2 separate regions of the Homo sapiens genome follow, and region 1 is linked to region 2. Evidence: promoter capture Hi-C in 16 types of primary human blood cells and fetal thymus (Javierre and others, 2016). All regions are on one chromosome and are shown on one strand. The core of a region is centred on a gene start or on the middle of the fragment in contact, and the rest is flanking DNA. Distances in the headings are between cores, read along the strand shown.

Evidence for each region. The method cuts DNA at HindIII sites, captures the fragments that hold promoters and counts their contacts. A CHiCAGO score of 5 or more calls a contact.
Region 1: a contact is called between a fragment that was not itself captured here and the fragment with the promoter of PRMT5 in region 2, in 1 of 17 cell types (naive B cells). The highest score is 6.3, in naive B cells.

Annotation. Positions count from the first base shown.
Region 1 is chr14:22,380,467-22,386,029 of GRCh38, forward strand. It overlaps TRD-AS1 (TRD antisense RNA 1), which reads right to left. Exons shown (of 5, transcript NR_148361.1): 3 at 1,885-1,939; 4 at 1,378-1,514; 5 at 1-1,208. It also overlaps TRA. Among named protein-coding and RNA genes, the nearest start is that of TRD-AS1, 100 kb to the right of the region's middle. RefSeq lists an enhancer at 3,188-3,897. The HindIII fragment of the contact is 2,799 bases long and covers 2,302-5,100 here.
Region 2 is chr14:22,927,158-22,932,831 of GRCh38, forward strand. It overlaps PRMT5 (protein arginine methyltransferase 5), which reads right to left and starts at 2,219. Exons shown (of 17, transcript NM_006109.5): 1 at 2,095-2,219; 2 at 1,340-1,458; 3 at 969-1,054; 4 at 369-503. The coding sequence starts at 2,204. PRMT5-DT (PRMT5 divergent transcript) reads left to right here and starts at 2,452. Exons shown (of 3, transcript NR_110002.1): 1 at 2,452-2,595. It overlaps TRR-ACG1-3 (tRNA-Arg (anticodon ACG) 1-3), which reads left to right and starts at 2,544; the gene lies at 2,544-2,616. RefSeq lists enhancers at 1-4, 2,063-2,172 and a silencer at 2,583-2,672. The HindIII fragment of the contact is 19,261 bases long and covers 1,027-5,674 here.

The DNA of each region.
Region 1 (5,563 bases), core at 2,451-4,950, 550 kb before region 2:
TAAGGAGCTCCATCTTGGTTGGCCCCTGAAGGCACCTGGAGACTTTGGTTTTAGGGAACCAAGGAGTCTCAGTGCTGAATGAGGATATAGTTCCCCGGTGTAGAATTTTAGAAACTATGCAAGCACTTGGATCTTTAAAAAAAAAATAGTTGGTCCCTGGGCTGTCTCTTACAACTTTAATATTTACACTATGACAAAGTGAAAGTGCTCATTCGTGTTCGAGCCAAAGTAATACCATTCTCTTTATTCATTCCAATGAGCTAATTTTACATGAGCAAGAAAGCACTGGAGAGGTACAGACCCATGGGATATTTGCCTAGCCTAAGTGAGTCTCAGATGGAAATAAATATGAAAAGCGTTAGCATGGGACCTGTGAGAAATTGATTCTTACATCTGGCCTCCAAAGGGTCAAGCCACAAATAAGTGACCTTTGACATGCCCCTTCTCTAGTTCAGCCTGGAGCTGCCCACATTTCCCAGTGGTGCCCAGTCAACTCATTCTCCTGATGCAGGATCATCAGAGAGAATCTGGAGTAATGGCAGCTGCGGGTAAGGGGCTGCCAAATAATAGTGGAACAAAGATCTCTTCCAAGTTTCTATTTCCTCCGAATAGCTCAAATACTTCAACAGTCCAGGTCCCCCTAAAGACTGCATTTTCTTAGCTGCATTCTCTCTAGTTGTGATGAGTGTCTCAAAAAGGAACACCTCTCCTCCTGAGTTTATGATAGTTTATGACCTGCCACTTCATTTCCAGCAGTGTGTCCCAGTTCCTCTTGCAATCCACAAAGGACACTTTTTCTTTCAGTAGCCTGGTGTGAGCTCTTGCCTCTCAGGATTAGCTGTGATCTTACTGCTGGGGTGGGAGCACACTTAGCCACAGGGCCCAAAAGAACTACTGTCACTGAAAAGAGCACTTTCCTGTATTTGAGGGCTCTTCCTCTCTTCTGGTACACCCGGGGAAAAACCTGGCAGAGTCCACCCACAGTCTTTGAGGATTAATTCTGTAAGAACTTCTTACACTGAAGGGAATCCTCCTCCAGGGGATGATTCTGCTCTGTGCTTCTGAGCTCTGATGGCAATCACATCAACATCGCCAGGGACTGTGGCAGAAGAGGAACATCACCCACTGGAAACCGGGGCAAGTTGCTCCTCTGTAGTTCCAGGAAATGGCCAGAGGCACAGCTCTGCTGTTCCAATTTGCAGTTTTCTCTAACATCAAAAATAAAATGTGATTTGCATTTGAAATTTTACAGAATTCCTCATTTTAGGTCAAGACTGGCCTTACCCATAGGTTAGTGACTTATGTGGTAGGATTTAACACACACACACACATACACACACAAATATTATCCATAAAAAGAATTATATTCCCACCAACCTGCTGTGGCATTCATCAGTGACCCTTTGAAGTTCAGCCATTGAAGGGGCAGGTTAAAATGCAAATTTGTTTCTTGGAGAGGTAGCACATAGAGCTATTATCAACTGTCAATGCTCCGGTATTGCTGGAATGTCAGACTAAGAAGTTTGGGTTAAAAATTAACATATCAGTAAGTGAAGACTGGCTTTATATATTACATATTTAATTTATAAAAATGGTGACATTAAAAGGTGGCACCAAAATGTAAATAGAATCAAGATCACTTTGGATAAATTAACGCATGACACAAGCCTTTGACATGTTATTAATGGAAATGAGTTTGGGGGATCTAATTTAGCCTTTGAGATTAGTGTCAACAAAGAAAGGTATCTCCTCTGGTGCCCATGGCAGAAGCAGAACATTAGTACAATTCACCATAGATCAGTTTCACTTTGTAATTCAGTGTAAGTGGTTTATATGATAGAGAGGGCAGGAAGATCTGGTTTTGACTCTGTCTCTACTACTTACAAGATGCGTGAAGCTGCTCAAGTCACTTAAGCAAGGTGAGCCTCAGGTTCTTCATCTACAAAAGTGGGATGTAGAAAAGAAGAGTAAATGTAAAATTCCTGTTCAGTAGTTGTCTATTAAAGAATCTCTCCTTCCTTCCTCTATTCACATCCATCAGGGAGAGGAGTAGGCTGATGGTGCCAGCTAAGGACCTCGGCACTCCTAGACCTATTCCTGAACCATTAATGGCTCTGAATTTGGGACAGGAATGTTACTCTCATGGTTAATTCCTTGCTCACTTGTCTGCTGGTGCTTGTTCACAATGTCAAAGATATGGCAACTTCATGGGAAGGCAGGTTTAACTTTTTGGTGTTTTTGCACTAGCCTGTATATCTGTCTACCTTTCATATGAGAACCACCTTGCTGATTCAGACTGGAAGCTTCAAGAGAGAAGTTTCTTTCCATTTAATGCACTGGGGATGGTGCTCAACAGAGAACCACACTCAAATCGGGGCTAAATAATATGGCAATATCATGGTTACAAAAGAAACACCTCCCTTTCTCACCAAATCACTGAATCCCTTATTCTATAAAAATGAAATTGAACTGCAAACATCACCACCATGACAAGAGGATTTAGGCACACTGATCAACTGATTAAATTCTATTTGTCATCCAGAGTGATCCTGGAGGCCTTCAGAGCCTGGAGGAAACCTCTCTGTGACTCTACTCACATCTTTACACACGGAAAATCCAATTAGGCTGAGTATCTACAGCAGCTTCCAGAAGTAAACTGATTGCAGAAGGGCAGCCTGCTGCCTGAGGACTGCAGGGGACGAGGAAGGGGTGGGCCACCTGGAAGGGACCTCTGCCTTCTCAGCACCTAGAGTTGGTTTCCAGATGATCACATAGTTTAACCCTTTTCTTTTATAGACAAGGAAATTGAGGCCCAGAAAGGTTAACAGTCTTGCCCAAGACCTAAGATTAGAAGGCAGAGTTGGGGTTGAGAATTGCTTATGTGAGACTCAGACCCAAAGCAGACGACCATATTTTCAAATTCAGTGAAAACTGGAAAACTCGTATGGGCCTACCCAGCCTGGAAAATCCCCATGTATTACCAATACATAGTAAACGAATCAAAGATTGAAAAGTTTACTTGAAAACCAATCAGAAGTCCTCTCCCACATGCAAAAATCCCACCCTAATAGAACACTCATCACCCGTCAGACTGTCTTAACACTTCTTCCTTTTTCTTTCTTTGCAAACCCCTTTGAGCCTGTGCCAGAAGTGACGGTGTCTGCCACCCTCTCTGCAGTCAGTCCTGACCAGTTCTCTGGGGTTTACACCTGTCCTCTGGCCACTCGTCTGCTGCACTTCCTGCATCTGCTTGTTTCACCTTGGCCCCAGCTTTACCTGAGGGGTGCTTGGCCTGTGCCTTGAGTTCCAGGGCCTATGTTTACTTCAAAAATATTAATGTCAATTCCTTCAACTTGTTCCAAAGACAACAGAGCCTCTCACAAGCAGGCAAGCCCTGCCACTTGTTACGTAGTTGAGGCTGACGAGCCTGCAGGTCCCAGCCAACTTTATCACCTCCCTCTTCTGAGGGGTGGAAGTCCCCAACATCTCAGGGTCCCCTGAGAGTATGGGGATTCCCACATCGGCAAGTACCTGCTTCAGAGAAGCCCATGAGAAACTGGCCCAGAGCAAGCGGGTCCACCCTCCCATTGTGGGAAAGTGAAGGGCAGAAGGAGTCTGGCTGGAGGTCACTCCTGCCACTGATCTTCCTCACTCGGGTCCAGCCTGTCAGAGGATAAAGCACAGTGGTGGGTGGGGGTATCTGGCTCTCCCCCACCCTCCTTCTCAGGGGTTCAGTAGTCCCTGGGAACAAGATTCAGCTCAGGAATTTCTGGGATGCTGGTCAGTTCTGGCCCTAAGGACACTGGGAGTGACAGCGGGCTGCTAAGGATGTGACAGTGACTGGGCTGTTCCCTTCACATGACTACCAGGGCAAGCCCTGGCCAAATCCCAGCACCTGCTGAAAGTTGAAGCTGACCACTGGAGTGATTAGATTCATGACATGTGGTGGAGGCCTGGGGAGTGGAGCTACTGGGAAAGGACACAGCTAAGGAATCTCCTCCCTCCCAGCATTGCTTGACCCTTTCACAAAGACAGTGGTAGGTAGAGGAAGAAGGAGAATTGGCCTACTCCTTCCTTTTCGCTGTATATGGTCATAGAAATTGTCAGAACTTTATATCTAGATTCAAGTTCTATCTCTAGCACAATTAGCTCTAAAACTTTGCGAACGTTACTTAACCTCCTAGGTCCTCTTTGTTCATAAAACGAGAACGTAATACATACCTTGGTTGGCTGTGAAAGTTATATGAGTCAGTGTTGTGGGGAAGTTGAAGGCATGCAGTAGATGCACAAGGAAAATTAAATTCCGTTCCCCAGTTCCTGGCTTGCAAGTTGGGGGTTAAACTCAGTTAAGCTCAGAGAAGACATGACATGACGGGGGATCAAGGGAGATGTGGGAAGCTCACGGGCTGTGGTTCCCACTGATCCACATTAGACTCCAAATGACAACACCCTCACAATCCCATGAAATTGAGCAGAATTTCTCTTCTTTCTTGTGATGTTTCCAGAAATGAAGAGAGAGGGAAGGAAGACACAGACTCTGATCTTTGGCTTCACTTTGGTTCCAAGACCTGGAGCTGATAGTGTATGGAGGGTTGCCTGTTTGTCCAGGCACTATGAATAAGACCAAGGTAATCCAGCCCAACTCTACGACACAGCTAAGCCAACAAGCAGCTGGATCTTGTGTCTCAGCACTCACAGAAATGTATAAATCATCTGATACCAACTGCTCCCCGGAAGCCTCTGTCTCCAGAATATAAATGTCCAACTACAGGACTGGCAAAGAAACCAAGCCCTGGGCAATGCCTACTATGGACCCTTATTTCTTGTGGTTTGCTAAGAAAAAAGTAGGCCCAAGGGAGAGGAGGGGGAAAACCAGGAGGGTCTAAAGTTCTTCTGACTGAAAGAAAAGACCACATCAGAGAGAAAGAAAGGAATCAGTTAAGTAATAAAAGGTTGTGAGTTGATTTATCATTCAACTAAACAAATTATCTTCCTACACAAACATTCTGAGGATTAAGTGAACAATATAATACTTTTCTGAGCTCTTTTTGATCAAATGCTTTGCTGTTAAAGGTTATATTCCTAGGGAGTTGATACTGAAGCTTCTTGTTCCTTGTCAGTAAACACAAGGAGAGGCCAACCCTCTGTAAATTTAAATTACATAAAACCTTTCCCCAAACTGTCTGGTCTCCTAACAGCCCCTTTTCACTGAACTCTGTGGTTATGGAATGTAAGTATCTTTATCACAGCAGCACAGACTTTTGAAAATTTGACATAATAGAATTTCTTCCTCACAAGGCATATCAAACACCATTGCAAACTAGTGGGATTTTTAATCAAGACTAAAGCAGAGGTCTTTTATTTGTTTGTTTGTGCTTAGATTATTTCCACATGACCAATAAAATGTTCTCTCTGACCATCATCCCTGCTGACTAGAAGTACCAGGAACCTTGTCTCACCCTCACCTCCAGAGGTAAGGGTATGAACGGACTGTGAAAAAACACAGCAGAACACTGGGGTCAGCAGAGAGAAAGCGAAAGAACCCCATGGGCAGATAATCTAA
Region 2 (5,674 bases), core at 969-3,468:
TAACTGCAACCTCCGCCTCACAGGTTCAAGTCATCCTCCCACCTCAGCTTCCCAAGTAGCTGGGACTACAGGCGTGTGACACCCCACCTAGCTAATTTGTGTTTTTTTGTTTTTGTTTTGGTTTTGGTTTTTTATACAGACAGGATTTCACCACGCTGCCCAAGCTGGTCTCGAACTCCTGAGCTCAGTGATCTGCCCACCTCAGCCTCCCAAAGTGCTGGGATTACAGGCATCACCCACTGTGCCCGCCAATACTGATACTTCAATTCTGCCAAACACACCCTTCACTGAATGGCTAGGCACAAGAAGGTACTTAGCACAATCTGACTACTATGATATGCAGCAGGAAAGGAGCCCCTCAGCTATACCATGGAAGAGTGATGGCCAGTGTGGATGTGGTTGGTCAAAACTCTGGCCAGGTTGGTGTTATCTTCCTGATTAAGGGGCAGCAGGAAAGCTGGAAGACCCAAATATGCACCAAAATTCAGCTCCTGTAACATGGCCTGGAACGGAGATGAAGAGGAAAAGTTTGAGCTAACAAGCAAACAGCTTTTTTTTTTTTTTTTTTGAGACAAAGTCTCACTCTGTCACCCAGGCTGGAGTGCAGTGGCACAGTCTCCACTCACTGCAGCCTTGACCTTCCCAAGCTCAACTGATCCTCCCTCCTCAGCCTCCTGAGTAGCTGGGACCACAGGCATGCACCACCATGCCTGGCTAATTTTTGTATATTTTATAGAGATGGGGTTTCACTACGCTGCCCAGGCTGGTCTCGAAATCCCGAGCTCCAGTGATCCTACAGCCTCAGCCTCCCAAAGTGCTAGGATTATAGGTGTGCACCACAGCACCCAGCCTAATAGCTTTAATTTCATTCTATCAGTTAATTTACCAAGTTATTGGGGATGGGAGGGGACCACTCTCCCCACCCAGCTTGGTTAGAAAAATCCAGCAGAGAAGTCAAACAGTCTTACCGCCTCGGAGTTCCTGCGAATCTTCTCCACTTTTGAGTCTGGACGAATCCATGGAGAAAGCTTTCCCACAATTAGCGTATTCCAGTCTGCACTCCCCCACCCAAGAAAGACAAATACTGAATAAGGTTCAGCACTTTACTTGTTCAATTTTTAGTTTTGGGAATCAAGAGTAGAAATGAGAGACAAAGGTTTTTTCTACATAGACATGGGATAGCCTGATGCAGAATAGAGAAGCAAGGAGAAAACAAGTTATCTATATCCCAGGGACTAACAAATATATCCAAGTCAGAAAAGGAGGAGAATGAGGGCCCCGATAAAGCAGAAGTTGTTATTGCCTCTAATAATTAAGGGGCATATGGGATGGTCCCTACCCCTTCCTGACAGCAGTAGGTCTGATCGTGTCTGGGGACCGGGCCGATTCTTAGCAGGTTCCTGAATGAACTCCCTCTTGAAACGCGGATGGAAGACAGGCATGCAGAGGAAATCAAACCTACAACCGCGACAGACCCAGAATCATGTAAAGACAGCAGCAGTGCCAGAGAGCCAAGCAACTGGATTTAGGCTATCTTGATTTTGCACAGCCCTTTCAGCTGCCATCAGTTCAGCCTACTAGGCTGCTGAGTTCAGACCACCTTGGGGGATATCAACTCTGCTGTACTGTGCCTCAATTTCTCCCTAAAACACAGCCATGGGACATATGAGTAAGGAGAAAATGATGGATATCCACAAGTAGAATTTTTTTCTCCTCAGGTGTCAGTATGTTTCCAAGACCATCACATCCAGATTTGCCCCAGTTCTGCCCATGCCTCCCCCGTCAAAATTAGCCTCTTCTCTCCCTTGCCCCCTAACACCTCCTCCCACTCCCAGACAATAATCGCGACCTCCAGGGCCCTTTAGAGTTTACCCAACAACTCTCCCAACTTTGGGACTCAGTGACCACAGGCCTCCCACAAGTTATTTTCCTCACGTTACTGGGTCCGAGGCTCCTCCCCTCCAAAGAGTAATAGTCTCTCCCCTCCTCATCCTAGCCGACCCCCTCACCCCTGCTTCTCCGGGATGACTAGTCTGCCCTTCTCCGTCCCCGAGTTCGGACCCCGCATTCCGCTCGTGGAGGTCCGGCCCTCACCCCTGCTTGGCCACAGCCCCTAGTGTGTCAGCTATTTCGGGGACGCAATTCAGGTCCCTCCCGCTGGACACGCGGCTCCCACCAGCACCCCCGACCGCCATCGCCGCCATCTTTCTCCTCGCGCTGTCCACGCCGGGATTCCTTGATACTAGTAGCCAATCACAAAGTCAAACTAGTGCCCCAGAAGGCGGGACGAGTCGCCTTAACAACCAGAGCGTCTGCCACAGCTCCCGAACAGGAGGGATGGGGAGTGGCTTTTCCTGCCAATCCGCGGGCTGCACAGTGGCGTACGGCATGGATCCACCAATCTCAGGGTCTGGTTCCTGACGAACTTCAATCTCCCAGAATGCTTAGTCTATCTGAAGAACGCCGTTGAGAGACTACACCGCCCATGAAACCCTGCAGTATAACCTTGAAGTACCATCACGGAGAGAAACAGTGCCATCTCAGGGCCAGTGGCGCAATGGATAACGCGTCTGACTACGGATCAGAAGATTCCAGGTTCGACTCCTGGCTGGCTCGGTGGGGTTCCTCGCAGCTTCGCTGCGTGAGCATTTTGTAATTTTCCTTTCCTTTCGCAGCTTGATGCTTCTTTATTATCTTCACGCTTTCATTATCAGATCCTGAGTCGGTTGGGTTATGCAGCCATGTAATGTCAGCTTTTCCCGTAACTACCCTCAAAAGTGTTTTTCTTGTGTCATTATTTACGTCCATATGAACACTGAGAAAACTGGGTTAATGGCTGGTGCTATTAAAATGAGCTTTGTCACCTTACTATGTTACATATTAAAATAAACTGCTAACTCAGCTACTACTTCCTAGTGATTCTAGGAAGTAGTGTTTTGTGTTTCAAACACAAAAGGTGTAAATAAACGCCTAAACACACACACACACCTCAAGATAGAGAAAAGGAATTCATTAATTACAGTGGGCAGCAGTCATGAAATTGGCTGGCATGGAGGCCAGAGAGAATCTACATTTTCTCATGTCATTAGCTGCTAGAGATGGAAAGGAAGGAAGCAAGGAAAGACATAGGGAGGTAAATGGGAACTCCAGAAGGCAGGGGGCCCACTGGTGTTGAGGGCTCGGCAGCAAGGATGGAGAGGAGAACACGGTACAAGAGACCCCACGCAGGCGCCGCTGGCAGAACTTAGGGACCGACTGGCAAGGAGTCCTGAGAAAGCAAAGTAGGGGGTGATGCCTAGGATTCTGTCCATGCAGTGAGCAAGAAATGCGGAAAGAGGGTTTGGGAAATCAGGGTTTGGGTTTGGTCATGCTGAATTGAACGTCTAGGGGGCGCTGTGTAATAGAAAGTTGGATGGAGGTCGCTAGAAGAAAAGAACTGAGGCCATGCGACTGAGATCACCATAGCTCGTTGGGGACAGAGCCATAGGAAATACGAAAAGGGTGTGGGGTAGGATAAGTTCTGGGGAACCCTGGGTGCAATGCAAGTGCCCCAAAAGAATGAAAGCCGGAAAACCGGCCGGGCGCGGTGGCTCACGCCTGTAATCCCAGCACTTTGGAAAGCGGAGGCGGGTGGATCTCCTGAGGTCAGGAGTTCGAGACCAGCCTGGCCAACATGAAAACTCCCCGTCTCTCCTAAACGTGGTAGCAGGCGCCTGTAATCCCAGCTACTCGGCCAGCTACTCGGGAGGCTGAAGCAGGAGAACTGCTTGAACCCGGCAGGCGGAGGTTGCAGTGAGCCAAGATCACGCCACTGCACTCCAGCCTGGGCAACAAGAGCAAAATAATGTCGGGGCAGGGGGAGGAGGAAAGGAAAGTCGGAAAAACCAAAGCATTTAAAAAATGCACCATGAAGGCCAGGCTGGGCACAGTGGCTCACGCCCGTAATCCCAGCACTTTGGGAGGGCGAGGCGGGCGGATCACCTGAGGTCGGGAGTTCGAGACTACCCTGACCAACACGGAGAAACCCATCTCTACTAAAAATACAAAATTTAGCCAGACGTGGTGGCGTGCGCCTGTAATACCAGCTACTCAGGAGGCTGAGGCAGGAGAATCACTTGAACCTAGGAGGTGGGAGGTGGAGGCTGCAGTGAGCCTAGATCATGCCGTTGTACTCCAGCCTGGGCAACAGCAAGACTCCGTCTCAAAAAAAAAAACAAAAAAAAACCCCAGCACTTTGGGAGGCCGAAGCAGGCGGATCACGAGGTCAGGTGATCAAGACCATCTTGGCTAACACAGTGAAACCCCGTCTCTACTAAAAAAAATACAAAAAAAATTAGCCGGGTGTGGTGGCAGGCGCCTGTAGTCCCAGCTACTCAGGAGGCTGAGGCAGGAGAATGACCCAGGAGGCAGAGCTTGCAGTGAGCCGAGATCGTGCCACTGCACTCCAGCCTGGGCGAGAGAGCGAGACTCCATCTCAAAAAAAAAAAAAAAAAAAGCTCCATGAAGCCTGAAGTGATTGGAGGTGCTTTTGTCCACTATTATCGTTACTATTTTTCTGCTCCAGGATCCCATGCAGCATATCATATGACATTTAGTTGCTATGTCTCCTTAGGCTCCTCTTGGCTATGACAGTTTCTCAGATGTTCCTTGTTTTTGATGACTTTGGTAGTTTTGAGGAGTACTGGTTAGGTATATTGTAGGATGCCCCTCTATTGGAATTTGTCTGTTTGTCTCATGATTAGACTGTGTTTTGGGAAGGAAGGTCACAGAGTTAAAGTGCTGTTTTTGCCGGGGGCAGTGGCTCAGGCCTGTAATCCCAGCACTTTAGGAGGCCGAGGCAGGCAGATCACCTGAGGTCAGGAATTCGAGACCAGCCTGGCCAACATGGTGAAACCCCGTCTCTACTAAAAATACAAAAATTAGCCAGGAATGGTGGCATGCGCCTGTAATACCAGCTACTCGGAGGCTGAGGCAGGAGAACTGCTTGAAACTGGGAAGCAGAGGCTGCAGTGAGCCGAGATCACACCACTGCACTCCAAGCCTGGGTGACAGAGCGAGACTCCATCTCAAAAAAATAAAAGTGCTATTTTAATCACATCATATCAAGGGTACATACTATGAACATGATTTATGACTTAATGTTGACCTTGATCACCTGAAAAGAAGTAGTTTATCCAGTTTTTCCACTGTTAAGTGATTCTCTCCCACCCTCTCCCCGGCCCCAACTTTCCATACTGTATTCATTGGAAGGAAGTCACTATGCTCCCCCTCCTTAGAGTTGGAGTATCTACAGAATTTATTTGGAATTCTTCCCTCCAGGTCTTTCCAATAAATGGTTGTTCTCAGCAAGTGGGTGAGTACTCCACCAGCATTTTATTTATTTATATTTTATTTCATTTTTCATTTTATTTTGAGACAGAGTCTTGCTCTGTCGCCCAGGCTGGCGTGCAGTGGCATGATCTCAGCTCACTGCAACCTCCACCTCCCGGGTTCAAGCAATTCTCCTGCCTCAGCCTCCCAAGTAGCTGGGACCACAGGTGTGCACCACCATGCCTGGCTAATTTTTGTATTTTTAGTAGAGACGGGGTTTCACCATGTTGGCCAGGCTGGTTTCAAACTCCTGACCTCAGGTGATTCACCCACCTCGGCCTCCCAAAGTGCTGGGATTACAGGT